Linked DNA regions of Homo sapiens: region 1 is linked to region 2. Evidence: promoter capture Hi-C in human tissues and cell types (Jung and others, 2019). All regions are on one chromosome and are shown on one strand. The core of a region is centred on a gene start or on the middle of the fragment in contact, and the rest is flanking DNA. Distances in the headings are between cores, read along the strand shown.

Evidence for each region. The method cuts DNA at HindIII sites, captures the fragments that hold promoters and counts their contacts. A contact is called where the count stands out against the background at its distance.
Region 1: a contact is called between a fragment that was not itself captured here and the fragment with the promoter of UVRAG in region 2, in 1 of the 25 tissues and cell types used here (dorsolateral prefrontal cortex).

What each region holds. Positions count from the first base shown.
Region 1 is chr11:76,331,267-76,334,688 of GRCh38, reverse strand. No RefSeq gene overlaps it. Among named protein-coding and RNA genes, the nearest start is that of THAP12, 48 kb to the left of the region's middle. The HindIII fragment of the contact is 9,513 bases long and covers 1-3,422 here.
Region 2 is chr11:75,813,572-75,816,651 of GRCh38, reverse strand. UVRAG (UV radiation resistance associated) reads right to left here and starts at 1,442. Exons shown (of 15, transcript NM_003369.4): 1 at 1,128-1,442. The coding sequence starts at 1,244. It overlaps UVRAG-DT (UVRAG divergent transcript), which reads left to right and starts at 1,855. Exons shown (of 2, transcript NR_144531.1): 1 at 1,855-2,189; 2 at 2,791-3,080. RefSeq lists a silencer at 1,119-1,318 and enhancers at 1,614-1,908, 1,779-2,208, 2,132-3,080. The HindIII fragment of the contact is 17,046 bases long and covers 1-3,080 here.

The DNA of each region.
Region 1 (3,422 bases), core at 346-2,845, 520 kb before region 2:
TGCAGGTGAGTGTAGGCTTTTAGAAGCAGTGAGGCCACATCATGAATGCTTTGCTGCTTAGAAATTTCTTCCACCAGATACCCCAGATCATCTCTCTCAAGTTCAAAGTTCAAGAAATCCCTAGAGCACAGGGGCATAATGCTGCCAGTCTCTTTGCTAAAGCATAGCAAGAGTGACGTTTACACCAGTTCCCAATAAGTTTCTCATCTCCATCTGAGACCTCTTTAGCCTGGACTTCATTGTCCATATCACTATCAGCATTTTGTTCACAACCACCACCCCCGTGATTCAATCACCTCCCACTAGGCCCCTCCTCCAGCACTGGGGATTACAATTCAGCATGAGATTTGGGTGGGGACACAGAGCCAAACCACATCAGATGGACTGGAAAAATGGTCCCAGCAGCAAGCGTAGAGAGCACCAGGCCTCAGATGGGTTCACCAGACCCAGCAGCATGTTAAAGGCCACCCCACCCCAAACCTATGCAGCAAAGACACTTGAACATCACTTAACCCTGCATGTACCAAACTTATTTCACCAAAAATCCTTTTGTGTCATGGAACGTCTTTATTTGAGGGAGTGGGGAATTGACTGGTTGTTTGTTTGAGACAGAGCCTTACCCTGTTGCCTAGGCTGGAGTGCAGTAGCACGATCTCGGCTCACTGCAACCTTTACCTCCCAGGTTCAGCCAATTCCCCTGCCTCAGCCTCCCGAGTAGCGTGCCGCCACACCTGGCTAATTTTTGTATTTTTAGTAGAGACGGGATTTGGCCATGTTGGCCAGGCTGGTCTTGAACTCCTGACCTCAGGTGATCTGCCCGCCTCGGCTTCCCAAAGTGCTGGGATTACAGGTGTGAGCCACCGTGCCCAGCTGATTGACTGTTTTTTGAAAAAGCTACCATGGGCTTATGGTATTAATATATTCCAAACAGTGCACTAGGGTGCACTTTGAAGCGTTTTCCTCCCACCCTTGGCTCCTTCAGTCTCCAGTTTCCTTCTCCAAAGGTGGTCATTTGTCTCCCTTCTGTATCCTCCCAAGTTCCAGGCTACACAAGGATGTATGGGTGTGTTTTCTTTTCAAAATGCAGGTGGAGGCAGCTGATAAACACATCTCTACTGCAGGTATTTTAAGGGCTTAGGTGCAAGGCAGTGTTCAGCAATGGTGTCATGGGGACACCTCCTTTGGCTGGACCTGAGGAATGAGGAGGAACTATCCAGGGGTCCTAAGGATATATCATAGTGCATTTAGCCATTCTTCCAGTGAGGGGCATTGAGATAGTTTCTAGTCTTCTGTTAATCTAAACCAGGGTTGGCAATCTATGGATTCCTGACCAGATCCAGCTCAGCTCTTGTTTTTTATGTACCTTAAGCTATGAATTTTTTATGTTTATAAATGGGTTTTTTTGTTTGTTTGTTTATTTGTTTGAGACAATTTGGCTCTGTTGCCCAGGCTGGAATACGGTGGCACAATCTCAGCTCACTGCAACCTCCACTTCCCAGGTTCAAGTGATTATCATGCCTCAGCCTCCCGAGTAGCTGGGACTACAGGCATGTGCCACCAAACCCAGTTAAGTTTTGTATTTTTGGTATAGACGGGGTTCCACCATGTTGGCCAGGCTGGTCTCAAACTGCTGGCCTCAAGTGATCCTCCTGCCTCAGCATCCCAAAGTGCTGGGATTATAGGCATGAGCCACCACAAGCAGCCTGTAAATGATTTTGAAAAAATAATATTTTGTGACACATGAAAAGTATACAAAATTTAAGTTTCAACATTTGTAAATAAGATTTTATTGGAACACAGGCATACCCATCCGTTTACGTTTGTTTATGACTGCGTTTGAGCTGCAGCAGCATTGTGGATTAGCTACAATGAGACCATATAGTCTGGGTATGGTGGCTCAACGCCTGTAATTCCAGCACTTTGGGAGGCTGAGGCAGGTAGATCACTTGAGCCCAGGAGTTCAAGAGACTGTATAGTCCTCAAGCCTAAAATAGTTACTGTCTATCCTTTACAGAAAAAGGTTGCTGACCTCTGCTTTAAACAATGCTGCAACAAATATCTTTCCCCATTACTGCAAACATGTAAGTAGATCTCTCATAAATAGCCCATTTGGTCTAAGCCAATCTGAGAGACATAGCTCAAAAAGCACATTTCACCGATTTTAGTTAATTTTTCTTTTATTATAAGTGAAGTTAACTAAGCATCTTTTTAAACACATAAAAGTGTTGGGCCATGTGTGGTGGCTCACACTTGTAATCCCAGCAATTTAGGAGGCTGAGACAGGAGGATAATTTGAGCCCAGGAGTTCAAGACCAGCTGGGTAACATGGTGAGACTGCTATCTCTACTAAAACTACTACCCAGGCGGGGTGTGGTGGCTCACGCCTGTAATCCCAGCATTCTGGGAGGCGGAGGCAGGAGGATCACTTGAGGTCAGGAGTTCAAGACCAGCCTGGCCAACATGGCAAAACTCCGTCCCTACTAAAAATACAAAAATTAGCCAGATGTAGTGGCGGGCACCTGTAATCCCAGCAACTCAGGAGGCTGAGGCAGGAGAATCGCTTGAACCCAGGAGGTGGAGGTTTCAGTGAGCCGAGATTGTGTCACTGCACTCTAGCCTGAGTGACAAGAGCGAAACTCCATCTCAAAAATAAAATAAAATAAAATAAAATAACTACCCGGTGTGGTAGCACATGCCTGTAGTCCCAGCTACTAGGGAGGCTGAGGCAGGAGGATTGCTTGAATCTGGAAAGTCAAAGCTTCAATTAGTCATGATTGTTCCACTGCACTCCAGCCTGGGTGACAAAGTGAGACCCTGTCTCAAAAAAAAAATTATATACATATATTTATATGTGTGTGTATATATATATATCATGTGTGTGTTTCCTCTTTTCTGTAAAATGTTTTTTTCAATTTGATAAAGAATATGGGCCAGGTGTGGCGGCTCACGCCTGTAAACCCAGCACTTTGGGAGGCCACGGTGGGTGGATCACTTGAGCCCAGAAGTTCGAGATAAGCCTGGGCAACATAGCGAGATCCTATCTCTACAAAAAGTTTAAAAATTAGCCAGGCATGGCTGGGTGCGGTGGCTCACACCTGTAATCTCAGCACTTTGGGAGGCTGAGGTGGGTGGATCACAAGGCCAGGAGATCGAGACCATCCTGGCTAACACGGTGAAACCCCGTCTCTGCTAAAAATACAAAAAATTAGCGGGGCATGGTGGCGGGAGCCTGTAGTCCCAGCTACTTGGGAGGCTGAGGCAGGAGAATGGTGTGAACCCAGGAGGCGGAGCTTGCAGTGAGCCGAGATCGCAACACTGCACTCCAGCCTGGGCGACAGACTCTGTCTCAAAAAAAAAAAAAAAAAAAAATTAGCCAGGTGTGGTGGTGCGTGCCTGTAGTCCTGGCTACTCAGGAGGCTGAG
Region 2 (3,080 bases), core at 193-2,692:
GGATTCTGCAACCCAGCCCCACCACTTACTAACTGGAAGGCTCTGGACAAGCCTCAGTTTCCTCAACTGCCAAATGGGGGTAATAAAAACAGCTATCTCACAGAGTTGTGAAAATTCAGTGAACTAATGGCCACTGAGCCCTTTGCACAAATCCAACACGGTAAGTTCTCAGTAAATGACAGTTTCTCTAGATCCTCTTCTTGGCAGGAGGAATAAAGGGAGAGGGTGAAAGGTATTCTTTAGGTCTCTTTAATGCTAAGATTCCTGCAAAATCTCCCCTTGGGGGACAGAAGGAAGGCAACCGATATAAGGAGGGAAGTACTCTACAGATATGTGAGTGAAACAAAGAGTTTTGTCACATCTCCAAAGTCAGTGTTTCCCCCTTCTTATCTTCCTACAACGCAGAGCCAAGAAGTCCTCAAAGCCCTTCCTAAAGGATGGAGGAACACATGAATATATACATCAAATCCTCCTTCCACAGAGACTCACTGAAGGGAATGAAGAAGGAAAAAGTCCTCCTAATTATTAAGATGCGTTCCTTGGGACTCGGAGAATTAGGAAGGAAACCCCCAAGTCTTGAATACATTTCTCTAAAGAGGCCGAATACTTAATAATCAGGGGAGATTAAAGCAAATGGTAGACACCCTAAAGTCTCCTCCAGGGCTCTTGCACGAAGAGTACAAACTGGTTTCTCCGTAAGCGGGGATGGCCAGGTGGGGAAAGAAAGGAAAAGTGCTTTCACTATGGCCCGTGGGACACAGGGGGTTCCCCGGGTCCCTTCCTGGGCGGAACGAGGGAGAGGGTCTGCGCGGGGCAATCCCCGGCTCCCTGCGTTGGGGGAGGCGGCCTCGGGCCGGGGCCCCAGGGACTTGAGCTGGCTGGCTGCTTGTCCCTTAACAAGCCCATCTCCTGTAACGGGATTCTCCTAGGACTCCGGGATCTCCCGGAGGTTCGGCCATCACTGGACCCCTCCCCGCACAAACCTCCTGACAGTCTTCCTCAGTCCCGCGAGCCCTCCGGGTCCCTGCTCTGGGTGTCCCGGCTCGCGGGGTCAGCCCGGAGCCAGCAAGCTCTCCACGCGGGCCTGCCCGGGTCCCTCCCGAGTGCTGCGAGCCGCGCGGGCTTACCTGCTGAGACGGCAGCTCCACATGCAGGGCCCGCGCGGCAGAACCGGGAGGCAGAGCAGCGGCCGGGCCCGGGGGTGGCTGGGGGACGGGGCCCCCGACCGACGCGGAGGCGCTCATCTCGATCCAGGGGCCGCCAAGCGGCGGGGCGGGCACTCTTCCGGCATCCGCCGCCGCCCCCTTGCCACCACCTACCAAGCCCCTGCAGCCTAGAAACCCGCCACCCGAGAGGCACTACTGCTCAGCCCAGACAGTAGCCGCCGCCGCTGCCGCCGCTGCCGCCGTTGCCGCCGCTGGCTAAGGAAGAGCCATATTACCGCAGTGCAACCCCTCCACCCCGCTGAGACCCGGAGCGCTCATTGGCTTAGCCCTCAAGGGGGCGGGACCCAACGGCAGAAAAGGGGCGTGCTATTGGGTAGAAGGTCTGTCCATCGCTGGCATTACTGGACTTGGGGGCGGAGGGACTCAAGGATGGCCTCAATTGCGTCTGTCAAGCCGGGGTGAAACCTGGGGCGTTGCTTCTTTTTTTCCCAGTCTAATTGGTTCTTTTACTACCAACGGGCAGAGTCTCCTGGTGGAGGCGGAAGGGCCATTGCAAGAGGTCGCTGTCAATTGTCAGTAAAGGGAAAGAGGGGTGGGGTCTTGATTAGGTAGAGCGCGCTTCTGGGCTCCGGTGTCACGTGCAGGAGGCGGGAGAGTCACCTGATTAGGGAGAACCGGTCTTCTGAGCCACTTCCGCCCTCACTGGTTGCCGTGGTAACAGGCCTCCGGTGGAGGGCGGGGACCCTCGGAAGCCAGCTGGGTGGCGATCGCTTGTCTGCCTTGGCAGGCCCCTTGTGCAGTCTTTTCCCGGCGTGAGCGTGCAGGGATTGAAAAGGAATGCTTTATGGTTCAGCAGAGAGCCACCACGCAGGATGCACTGGGACCTGAGAACCGTCGGGCAGTCCCACGAGCTCTTTCATGACCAGCTCCAACCGACAAGTACACGCCCCTTCGCACTCCACTAGCTAGTAAGCTGAGCTACAAGGTGTGCCAGGCACCCAGGACGCCGATTCACCGCTTCAGGTGGGCTGTTTGTGCTGTGTCCCCAGAAAGCCTTTGCTACTTATCCATCAGTCTTAGCTGGGGCAGGAGTCCCTTCTTCCAAAAGGCTTCTCTGAGCCTCTCTGGGACCTTGAGTTAGGAATTTTGACCCTACCGTGGGTCTGGATTATTCTATTAATTTTTTTTAACAGTGCCTCATTCTTTCGCCCGGGCTGGAGTGCAGTGGCAAAATCACGGCTCATTGCAGCCTCGACCTCCTGGGCTCAAGTGATCCTCCCACCTCACCCTCCTAAGTAGCTGGGAATACAGGCACATGCCACCAGGCCCAGCTAATTTTAAAATTTTTTTGTAAAGATGGGGTTCTGGCCATATTTCCCAGACTAGTCTCAAACTCCCAGGCTCAAGCGATCCTCCAGTCTCGGGCTCCCAAAGTGTTGGGATTACAGGCATGAGCCACCAGGCCTGGCCACATTGTCTTTTAACACATGTAAGCAGCCACCCTCCTTCCCACACACACACAAAATACTGTGAATTCTTCAAGCAAAAGGACTTTGTCTGATTCATCTCTGGATCCCCAGTGCCTGACAGAGAATCAGGAAATTTTTTTTTTTTTTTTTTGCAGTGAAGGCCCAGCTCAAATGCCACCTCTTCCATGAAGACTTCCGTGATCCACAATGATAGCATCTCCAGCAATTGCTTCTATAATGAATAGCATGAGTCATTCTGCAGGATGTTGATCTTCCTTTTTTTACTCCTAGACTGAATTTTTCCACCACCTGGATGAACATAGCAGAAAGAACATAGTGTTTTAGAGTCAGACACAATAGGAATCAGGCACTTTGGAATCTTGGCTCTACCACCTTTGAGCTATGTATCCCAAGGCAAGTCACTTCCCCTCTCTCAGCTTTAAAA